Regions from separate parts of the Homo sapiens genome. Here regions 1 and 2 are each linked to region 3. The links are contacts of gene promoters, found by promoter capture Hi-C in human tissues and cell types (Jung and others, 2019). All regions are on one chromosome and are shown on one strand. Each heading gives the region's core, a stretch centred on a gene start or on the middle of the fragment in contact. The rest is flanking DNA. Distances are from core to core; before and after follow the strand shown. Region 1 overlaps CBX7 (chromobox 7). Region 2 has its middle 27 kb from the start of SNORD83B. Region 3 holds the start of NPTXR (neuronal pentraxin receptor).

Evidence for each region. The method cuts DNA at HindIII sites, captures the fragments that hold promoters and counts their contacts. A contact is called where the count stands out against the background at its distance.
Region 1: a fragment that was not itself captured here is called in contact with the fragment with the promoter of NPTXR in region 3 in 1 of the 25 tissues and cell types used here (pancreas).
Region 2: a fragment that was not itself captured here is called in contact with the fragment with the promoter of NPTXR in region 3 in 1 of the 25 tissues and cell types used here (dorsolateral prefrontal cortex).

What each region holds. Positions count from the first base shown.
Region 1 is chr22:39,134,843-39,138,566 of GRCh38, forward strand. All of the region lies in intron 4 of CBX7 (chromobox 7), which reads right to left. Among named protein-coding and RNA genes, the nearest start is that of CBX7, 16 kb to the right of the region's middle. RefSeq lists enhancers at 1-153, 260-1,237. The HindIII fragment of the contact is 3,206 bases long and covers 294-3,499 here.
Region 2 is chr22:39,285,268-39,288,647 of GRCh38, forward strand. No RefSeq gene overlaps it. Among named protein-coding and RNA genes, the nearest start is that of SNORD83B, 27 kb to the right of the region's middle. The HindIII fragment of the contact is 9,215 bases long and covers 1-3,380 here.
Region 3 is chr22:38,842,493-38,846,256 of GRCh38, forward strand. It overlaps NPTXR (neuronal pentraxin receptor), which reads right to left and starts at 1,536. Exons shown (of 5, transcript NM_014293.4): 1 at 743-1,536. The coding sequence starts at 1,366. RefSeq lists a silencer at 1,055-1,124. The HindIII fragment of the contact is 15,093 bases long and covers 1-3,764 here.

The DNA.
Region 1 (3,724 bases), core at 647-3,146, 290 kb after region 3:
TTCCCATGCCATGTCTACCCACTCAACTCCTTCCCATGCCACGGCTGGCCATCACCCCACCCCACCCCAGCCCAGAGAGTGCGCCCCGGGCAACCCCAGGGTCGGCCAGCTCAGCCCTGCCTCTGGGCCCCACAGAGCACTCGCGTCCCAGCGTTTACTCCTTTGATACCCAGCAGAGAAGCATACAAGAAGGACAAACTGAAAACTGGCCAAGAGAAACAAATCTGGATGCATTAAGGAGTTAGCCTTCGTTTTAGGAAAGGCATCTTTGCTTGCCAGAGCACCTCCAAAACTGACACTGCCAGCTCACCCGGGAGATGGTGCAGGCAGAGGGCCAAGGTGTGCTCTTGGAGTTGCTTGGGGCAAAGCCAGGCCAGCAGCACACACAGCCCCGGATGCCCATGCTATCCAGCCAAAGGGACAGGGCTCCACCTGGCCTGCAGATGCACCCCGACCCCTCCAGGGGGCTCCTGGGCTCTGTGATTGCAGCCCGCTCTGCTGATTGCCCGCGACACATCTGGAGCTGGAGGGCAAGTCTGTCCACCCCTGGAGTTTGTAATGTCGGGATTTATCTTATTTACTTGGGGAGAATTTACATGAATCTACAAAAGATTCATGGTGCCAAGATGTTGGGAGACTCTGGATCACTGGGACAGTACCTTCTCCTGCCACCTGCTACCAGAGGTCAGGAGCTCCCAGGAAGATAGTGCAGCCATCAGATGGGACCTGTGAGGTCAAACACCTCCAAGCTGAGGGAAGGGATGACACACGCAGGTCCCACTCACAGTCGTGCCTGTTAACGGCATCACATGTCCCCAGGTGCCGGCTGCTGCAGTGATGGGAGGAGGGCTAAACTGGGAGGGGACTGGGAAAATACTGCAGTGCCTGGGAGGCACATCTGGTAGGCAGCTGACTCAAAACCCACTCCTCCCAGCGGGCTCACAGGCCATCAGAAGCCTAGTATGGGCCAGGCACAGTGGCTCACGCCTGTAATCCCAACACTTTAGGAGGCCGAGGCAGCTGGATCACCAGAGGTCAGGAGTTCAAGGCCAGCCTGGCCAACATGGCGAAACCCCATCTCTACTAAAAATACAAAAATTAGCCGGGTGTGGTGGCAGGTGCCTGTAATCCCAGCTACTTGGGAGGCTAAGGCAGGACAATCATTTGAACCCAGAAGGCAGAGCTTGCAGTGAGCAGAGATCGCACCACTGTATTCCAGCCTGGGCGACAGAGCGAGACTCTGTCTGGGAAAAAAAAAAAAAAAAAAAAAGAAGCCCAGTACATTCTACCATTCTGCAAGGCAGGGTCTTCTACGTCCTTGGCAACCTCATCACGAGAGAACTACAGCTACTAAAGGGACGCGGGTGCCAACAGTCAGGTCCTGGGTAAGCTACCGGCCTCCCTGGGCCTCAGTTTCTTTCTCAGCGAAACAATGAAGAGACTGTAGGAGCCAGCCTCCGAGGAGGGCCCCAACCACACCCACCTCCTGGAATTCACACCTATGCGCCGTCCATTCCCACACCCAGTGCTGTGTTGTGTGACTTCCCAGGCTAGGGCATAAAAGACACTGTGGCTTCTTCCCTGCTCTCTCTCTCAGGTCACCCACTCTGGGAAGCTGGTGGCTGCACTGTAAGGACACTCAAGCAACCCTCTGGAGAGGTCCACATGGTGAGGACCAGTCCCTGTCAACGTCCAGCCCTGACTCGATGGCACGTGAGCAGCCCCCTCGGAGGCAGATCCCGCAGCCCTGGTCGAGCCTGCAGATGACTGCAGCCCAGCCAACACCTTGACTGCAGCCCAGACTAGAACCACTGAAGAACCAGCTAGCACAATTCCAAATTCCTGACCCCCAGAAGCCATGTGAAATAATCAATGTTTATTGCTTTGAGTTGCCATGTTAGAGGGGAAGAGATAACGAACACACCTGCCCTGTAGGCTTAGTATGTGGATGGAGTATATTCATCTGTGAGGCACACTGGGCAGACAGCCTGGCACACAGACGTCCAGGAGATGTTACTTCCCTTCCTAGGCTCAATTCATGCCAAACCCAATGGAACATGCCCACTGCATGAAGGGAGGCCCACCCCCTCTGGCGAAAGCCTCCATGGGTTTTAATCAGGAGTGGCCAAGGACGCTTGACATGGACCACATACAAGTGGACCAAGAATCCTGACTTTCTGGCTTCCAATATCCTGCCTGGTGGGTCTTATTACATTAAGGAGAGCGGGTATTCTCTTCATACCCATTTTACAGGTGAAGAGGCTTACCTACAACCACACACAGGCAGAGCATTCCTTATCCGAAATGCTTGGAACCAGAAGTGTTTCAGACTTCGAATTTTTTTAGGATTTTGGAATATTTGCATTATATATACTAGCTGAGCATCCCCAATCCAAAAATCTGAAATTTAGACTGCTCCAATGAACACTTCCTTTGAACATCATTTTGGTGCTCAAAATGTTTTGGATTCTGGAGCATTTCAGATCTTGTTTTTCTTGTTGGGGTGGGGGGGCGGGGCGGCAGGGGACGGAGTTTCACTCTTATCACCCAGGCTGGAGTGCAATGGTATGATCTTGGCTCCCTGCAACCTCCACCTCCCGGGCTCAAGTGACTGTCCTGTCTCAGCCCCCTGAGTAGCTGGGATTACAGGTGCCCGCCACCATCCCCAGCTAATTTTTGTATTTTTAGTAGAGACAGGTTTTCACCATGTTGGCCAGGCTGGTTTTGAACTTCTGACCTCAGGTGATCCACCCGCCTCGGCCTCCCAAAGTGTTGGGATTACAGGCATGAGCCACCGCACATGGCAGCATTTTGGATTTTGGATCAGGGAGACTCAACCTGTGACTGCACTGCTCCAAGATCCACGTCCCTGTCACTGCAAAGCACTGAGGTCAGGAAAGGCCCCCAAGACCTACGACGTGGGTACTCCGGGATGCTGCAGAGACTTGGGTCCCCAACTGACTGAAGGCTGGAACAGGAGGCCCACTCAAAAATGACACACTTCTAGGGGTCTGACATTCCAAGGCTGTAGTTCTACAATTCTAAGATTCTGTTTCTGGCTGGGCGCGGTGGCTCACGCCTGTAATCCCAGCACTTTGGGAGGCCAAGCCGGGCGGATCATGAGGTCAGGAGATCGAGACCATCCTGGCCAACACGGTGAAACCCCGTCTCTGCTAAAAATACAAAAATTTAGCCAGGCGTGGTGGCGGGCGCCTGTAGTCCCAGCTACTGGGGAGGCTGAGGCAGGAGAATGGCGTGAACCCGGGAGGTGGAGCTTGCAGTGAGCCAAGATCGCGCGCCACTGCACTCCAGCCTGAGCGACAGAGCGAGACTCCGTCTCAAAAAAAAAAAAAAAAAAAAGATTCTGTTTCTTAGATTCTGAAACTCCAGCCTCTCATGTTTCCTCAATTCTCAAGTTTATGTTTCTGAGATTCTCAGTGATAATTTTGTGTTTAGGGATTCTGAGCATCGAAAGGCTCAAAGCTTTCAGGGCTTCCTTACAGCAAGATTCTAAGCTTTGAGAATTCTAGGATTCCACTGGCCATATGCCTACTCCCCCTCCCAGGTGGCACCGCCCACCCAGGCTGTCTTCCCCGGGCACCAGCCCCACACGCAGGCTTTTCCCAATTCCTCCCATCAAAACTTACCCAAGTGCCCCACCCCACAGTGCCCTGGGTGGTACAGGCGAGGGGACACAGATCAGCTCAATCAGCCAGTGCAAATG
Region 2 (3,380 bases), core at 386-2,885, 440 kb after region 3:
TGACACAGCCTCACTGGCAACATATTGATCAAGCATCCACGGAGCCCAGATTCAAGGAAAAAGGACATAGACTCCCATCTTTCAAGAAGAGGAGTGTCAAATAATTGGGGGAAGAGCATGTTCTAAAACCACCAGAATAAGAATGGAGGGGACTCCAAGGCAGGCGACCAGTATCTAATGCAGAGCCTCCTGCCCTGTTCCAGACCTCAGAACTCCAGCCAGGGCCACAAGTCAGCCTAGTGCAGACCATAGACCACCCCACCCACCCCTGCTCATTTCCTTTACATTTTTTTCTTTCTTTCTTTTTTTTTTTTTTTTTTTTTTTGAGACAGTCTCACACTGTTGTCCGAGCTGGAGTGCAGTGGCACTATCTCGGCTCATTGCAACCTCTGCCTTCCAGGTTCAAGTGATTCTCCTGCCTTAGCCTCCCCAGTAGCTGGGATTACAGGTGTCCACCACCAAACCCGGCTAATTTTTTTTTTTTTTTTTTTTTTTGTATTTTTAGTAGAGATGGGATTTCACTATGTTGGCCAGGCTGGTCTTGAACTCCTGACCTTGTGATCTGCCCACCTCGGCCTCCCAAAATGCTGTAATTACAGGCGTGAGCTGCCGTACCTGGCTTTTTTCTTTTCTTTTCCTTTTCTTTCCTTTTTTCTTTCTTTCTTTCTTTTTTTCTCTCTCTCTCTTTCTTTCTTCTTCTTTCTTTCTTCTTTCTTTTTTTTTGAGATGGTCTCACTCTGTCACCCAAGCTGGAGGGCAGAGGCACAATCTTGGCTCATGGCAGCCTCAACCACCCCAGCTCAAGCAATCCTCCTACCTCAGCCTCCCCAGTAGCTGGAACCATAGACATGCACCACCACACCCAGCTAATTTCTTTTTTCACGTATTTTTTGTAGAGACGGAGTTTAACCATGTTCTCCAGGCTGGTCTTGAACTCCTGGTCTCAAGGGATCCACCTGCCTCGGCCTCCCAAAGTGCTGGGATTACAGGCTCTGTTCACATTTTTGTGTGTGTGTGCCAAGCACAGAGGGGCCACTGTGTGCAGCTACAGAGGCCCAGCTGGCCTGGCACCTCGGCTGGAAAGGGGCAGCCTCTGGGTAGAAGAGCTGGGTGCCCAGGTGGGGAAGGCATTTCACTCACCCCCTGCCAGAGCTCCCTTGGAGCCCCAGAGTTCCAGGCTCCTGGGTCCTATCTCCTCTGCTTTCTCCAAGCCCATTCCAGGGAAACAGAAACCCAGACAGGGCTTGGAAGATGTCACTCCTGGGTCCTGAAGTGAGACCCCAGAATAGATGTTCTCCTGAGGTCCCCTCTCCTGAAGTTTTATAATTCTGGGGTTGGAAGTGTCCCATGCTGTAAAATCCAAAAGTCTGTTTCCCTGCTTCTCTTTTTCTTATTTATTTATTTATTTTGAGATAGGGTCTCACTGTGTCACCAAGGCTGAATAGCAGTGGTGCAACCATGGCTCACTGCAGCTGTGAACTCCTGAGCTCAAGTGATCTTCCCACCTCGGCCTCCCAAGTAGCTGGGACTACAGGCATGCGCCACCACACCTGGCTAACTTTTGTATTTTTTATAGAGACGAGGTCTCCCTGTGTTGCCCAGACTGGCCTTAAACTCCTGGGCTCAAGCGATCCTTGCACCTTGGCCTCCCGAAGTGCAAGGATTACAGGCATGAGCCACTGCACCAAACCTTCTCTCCTTCTTAAGATTCTGAGTTTCTGTTTTGACTCTATTTGACAGCATCAGTCAAATTGCAAACGGGCTTACCCTTTGACCCAGCAATTCTCCTTCTAAGGAATCTTCCAGCCTCCAGAAGTCATCAAGCATGTGCAGAAGAGACAAGGCAAAAGTGTTCACAGTGGCTTCTTGTGTAACCAAGGAAAACTGGGAGCTGCCCCCATCTGCACCAATGGCCAGAGCAATTTATGGAACGTTTACGGAACACCGCGTCTGGTATGTGCCTATGAAACTTCTGCATTCAACAGACAAAACTTCTGCATTCAAAACACCACATTTCAAAACAAAACTTCTGCATTCAGCATGCCACAGTCATGTGTGGAGAGCAGAGAGGAACCCTGGAGGGAGGAGCTGCAGACGGAGCAGGGCCGTGGGGCAGGTGTCTACTGGTTTCCTGTAATAAATTACCATACACTTGGTGGTGGAAATAACAGGCATTTATTCTCATAGCTCTGGAGGCTAGAAGTCCAAAATCAAGGTGTCTACAGGGCCATGCTGCCTCCACAGCTCCAGGGGGCAATCTTTCAGCTTCTGGGGACTCCCGGGTTCCTTGGCCTGTGACCGCACTGTTCAATCCCTGCCTCTGACTTCACAGGGCCCTTTCCTCTCCTGAGTCTCTGTTTGCAAATCTCCCATCCCTTTCTCTTGTAAGAACACTCTAACTGGATTTAGGATCCACCCCAACCCAGGGTGACCTCATTCTGAGATCCATACTCTAATTACATCTGCAAAAATCCTTATTCCAAATAAGGTCACGTTCTGAGGTGCAGAATAGACATGAATTTTGGGGAGATCCTTTTCAACCCACAACAATGTGGAAGGCCAATGTGTCTTCTCCATCATTTGGTCCTGCTGCAAGGAGGGTGTGTTTCTGGACCTGTGTATTATTTGTGTATCATTTCATTTATGCCTAGTGTTCCATTATTGGGAATTATTTCTGTCCTCCTTCTCAAGGTCATTGCCAAGGTCTGATTGCAAAAGTTTTAAAAATTGCAACTTAAGGCATAAATGGGTTAATTTTTTTTTTTTTTTTTTTTGAGACAGGGTGTCTGTTACCCAGGCTGGAGTGCAGTGGCACAGTCATGGCTCACTGCAGCCTTGGCCTCCTGGGTTCAAATGATCCTCCCACCGCAGCCCTGCTGAGTAGCTGAAACTATAGACATTCGCCACCACACTCGGCTAATTTTCTTTAATTTATTTTTTGTAGTGATGGAGTCTCACTCTGTTGCCCAGGCTGGTCTCAAACTCCTGGGCTCAAGCGATCCTCCCTCTTCAGCCTCCCAAGTAGCTAGGATTTCAGGTATGCACCACCACGCTTGGCTAATTTTTAAAATTATTTTAGAGACAGGGTCTCACTATGTTGCCCATTCTAGTCTGGAACTCCTGGCCTCAAGCGATCCTCCCACCTCAGCCTCCCAAAGTGCTGGGATTACAGGCATGAGTCACTGTGTCTGACCTCATTTTAACTTTCAAAAAGTTCTAAAATCCCAGAAGACAAGTTGTCTTCAAAGATCCTCTGCCTCCCAGGGTCAATGACTCCAGTTTTCTGGGAGGCCCAGGGGGCCCCTCGGCAATGAGGTGGAAATCGTCAGCATGGCAGGGTGGACGCCTCTGATACCTGCCCTGCTGACCAGGCTGGAAGT
Region 3 (3,764 bases), core at 286-2,785:
CCCCATGCTGGACCCCTTGTGTCTGACCCCAAGCCTGAGTCAGGAAAGCCTGGAAAAGTGAGTGGAGGAGGAGGAGCTCGGGGGGCCCTGTTCTCCATTCAGCCCCCACCCAAGAGCTGTGGGCTTCCAGGTGTGTGAGGCTGGGCGCCTGGCACCTGAGCTCCTGCGGTTTGGGTCATAGTCTGAGCCAGAGTGGGAGATTCAGGGTAGGGAGGTGGTGAGGGGCACCCAGGTTTGTCTTATAGGGCACTCTGTTCCCGGCTCTGTGTAATGAGGGGAGGACCCCAAGTCCTTTGGACAGCGCATCCATCTCCTGGCCATAAAGTGTGAGCGTGGAGCTGGGCTGATTTGGGGGTGTCCGGAAGAAGGAAATGAAAGGGACATTTAATGAGGTCCTAGTACGTGCCAAGCATTTTCACACACCTACATTTGATTCAATTTCCACTACAAGTGGACACTGTTATACCTATTTTACAGACACAGAAACTGAGGCTCAGAGAGGTGCCTGGAGACGGAAAAGGGTGGGGAGCGAATCTTTCTGGCGCGCCCTCTGTGCCTCAGTCACCGTGCCAGACGCCTGCCCGCGTTCCCTATCGAAATCCCCCCGCCTCGCCAGCGAGGAAGGCGCGATCGTCCCCGGAACACAGACGGGAGACCGGAGGCTCGGGGACCGCCGGACGACCGCGGCCGGGCGGCCCCTCACACCACCCGGGCGGCTCCCCCGACGGCGCGCGGCGCTCACCTCCAGGCGGTCGATGCGGTCCCGCAGGGCGCGCACGGCGTCCTCCAGCTCCAGAATGAGCGCAGGCGAGTCCCAGGGCCCGTCGGCCATGGTGTCGCGGCGGGGCCCGGCGCCCTGGAGGCCGCGCGGCAGGCCGCTCTCGCAGCGGCCCAGCTTGCCGGTGAGCTCACGGATGGTGTCCTGGTCGGCGCGGATGCGCGCCTCCTGCTGCAGCGCCGTCTGGCGCAGCTGCTCGGCCGTGCTCTGCAGCAGCAGCAGCTCTTCGCGCTCGCCCGGCGCAGCGCCCGCCGCGTCCCCCTGCTGGGCCCCCGACGGGCAGGCAGCAGCCAGCGGCGTGCACAGGAAGCGGCTGAACAGGGGCCCGGGCGGCAGCGGGTGCGCGCTGGCCGCGGGTGCCCCGGGCAGCGCGGGGGGCCCGGCTGAACCGCCCGCGCCGTGCAGCGCGCTCAGGCTCCGCTGCGGGCCCGGGGACGCGGCGGCGCCCGAGGCGACCGAAGCATTGTCGGCGCCGCCGGGCAGCGCCCGCGCCGGGCTGGCCGCCAGGGGCACGCTGGCGATGATGCAGATGACGGCACCGAGGAACGCCAGCATGCCCGCGGCCAGCAGCACGGCCAGGAACTTCAGCGTGAGGCGGGCGGCGGGGGCGCCCGAGGCCCCCGGCAGGCGCGGCGGCGGGGTCGGGGCGCGGAGCCCGGGCGCGCTGGGCCGAGCGGGGCAGGCGCGGGAGCCGGAGCCGGAGCCGGAGCCGGAGCCGGAGCTGGAGCTGTCGCCGCGGCCGCTGCTGCCGCCGCTCTGAGCCCGGGCGGCGGGAGGAGGAGAAGACGGCAGGCGGCGGGGAGGGGGAGCGGGCGCGGCGGCCCCGCCCCACTCGCTTCCCCGGGCCGGCCCTGGCCCCGGCCCAGCCCCGCACCCGTTCAGTGCCGGGCGCCCGGCTGGGGGCGCCGCCGGGGATGCGGCGAGGAGCGAGGGCAGCGCCTGGGACCTTATCTCGCCGCGGTCACAGCGCAGGGGCCGGCGACCCGAGGGCCGCGCGGCGGGGCTCCTGGGTGACCCCCATCCCAGCCCTCCCGTGCTCGGGCCCCCTCCCCAAGCCGGTTATGTTCACATCCACCCGGGAGGGAGCTTTCTTCCGGGTGGGGCTGTGCACTGGGCGCGCCACAAGCTCGGTCGCAATTGAGCCTTGCCGTGGACAGGCTCACAATAGAAATGAGGAAACTGAGACACCTGAGGTCAGGCCTCTGTCCAAGGTCACCGGGTGGCTGCGTTGGAGCCGCCTGCGAGCTTAGGCACGTTTCACCGGACCAGACTGTGGATGGGGCTGGAGTGGGAGCGGTTAGAGGTGGAGAAGAGGCCAGTGTTGGGGGTTGGGGGGAGGCTCGGATTTTGACCTAACTTCTGTTTATACTGTGGCCACCTGCCCGTCACCCCCACCTCCAACCTTCTGAAGGAGCAGAGTTCACTCCCCGCCACCCTCATTACAGAATCTTCCTGTGATCTCAGAGGATGATGGAAATTCTCTCCTCTGAATCCTTGGGGGCTTAGAGCCTCACAGGTCCAGAGAAACCCCCCACCCCCACTGCAGTCTGCCTTCGTTGGCAAGCGGTGCCACGTGCCTGGTGGGCATGTGGACCAGGCCCAGAAGGAACAGCAGGAATGGGAGTGGGCTGTGCTGTGGGGGTGGCAGAGGAGCGTTTTACTTTCTTCTGTCAAAAATGTCTATATATATTTTGTTGAAAATTAACTTTGCAATTAAAAACTTAAAAACAATCCTACTATCCTCCACACTTTATCCCCAGCTCCAATTTTCCATGAGGTCTTTCCTGACCAATACGGATTCCCAGGGCTGGAAGGGCCTTGGGAGGGCTGTGGTTATTCCCAGCTCTGTCTCCCTTCCAAGCCTGCATTTTTGACTTGAAGGGAAAGCGCAAACCAGGATCTCTGGACCACCACGGCTACCACTGTGGTTTCGAGTGTACTTCACATAGCGCTGGTGGTGGGGAGAGACCGGAATGTTTCCCAGGAAGCCACAACCCTGGGGGACGCTCTCCAGCCACGGGGATTTTGTCCAGTGTTCCCAGGCACACGTGCTCCACCTCCCTCTCTCCACACATGTTAGGATGATGTCCACCCTGTTCACCCATCTCTAGGAGCCAGGGATTTTCATCCATACCTGAGTTGTGAAAGAGGAGAGAAGCAAACACAAGCGCTGTATGCCAGGAACCTGAGTGCTGTGTGTGCGTGGATGTGTGCTGGTGCTCACTGAAGTCGTAACCTCAAAACCCAGGGCAGGCAGCTGGGCTTGGAGGAAGCATCTCATGGACAGAGAGATGGGCTGGGCTCTTGGAAGGCAAAGGCCAGCGGTAGGCCCTGCTAAAGTCCTGGGGATGCATGAGACATCGGGACTCCTGGTACATCTACACGTGTGCCGTGAAGACAGAAACACGGAGATAGCATCCCCAGGAGAAACTGTCATAGGAAGTCCAGGGAAGGACAGGAGATGCCAAGAGAGAGGGCTGCTGCCAAGAGCAGCAGAGCCACTGTGACTTGGGCACCAAATGGTGCCACCTTTACCTGAGCTGCCCCCTGAGACTTTGGGGACAGTTTGGATAAATGGGTCCAGAGGCTGGAGTCAAATTGTGTTTAAACTGGTCTGTTGATCTCCTAGAATGACTTTATTTTTTATTTTATTTTATTTTTGAGACAGAGTCTTGCTCTGTCACCCAGGCTGCAGTGCGGTGGCGTGATCTCGGCTCACTGGAACCTCTGCCTTGCGGGTTCAAGCAATTCTCCTGCCTCAGTCTCCCAAGTAGCTGGGACTACAGGTGCACGCCACCACGCCCAGCTAATTTTTGTATTTTTAGTAGAGATGGAGTTTCAATATGTTGGCCAGGCTGGTCTTGAACTCCTGACCTCAGGTGATCCACCTGCCTCGGCCTCCCAAAGTGCTGGGATTACAGGCGTGAGCCATGGCGCCCAGCCTCTCCCTTCTTCCTTGGCCCATCTCTATCCCCAGCATTCAGCA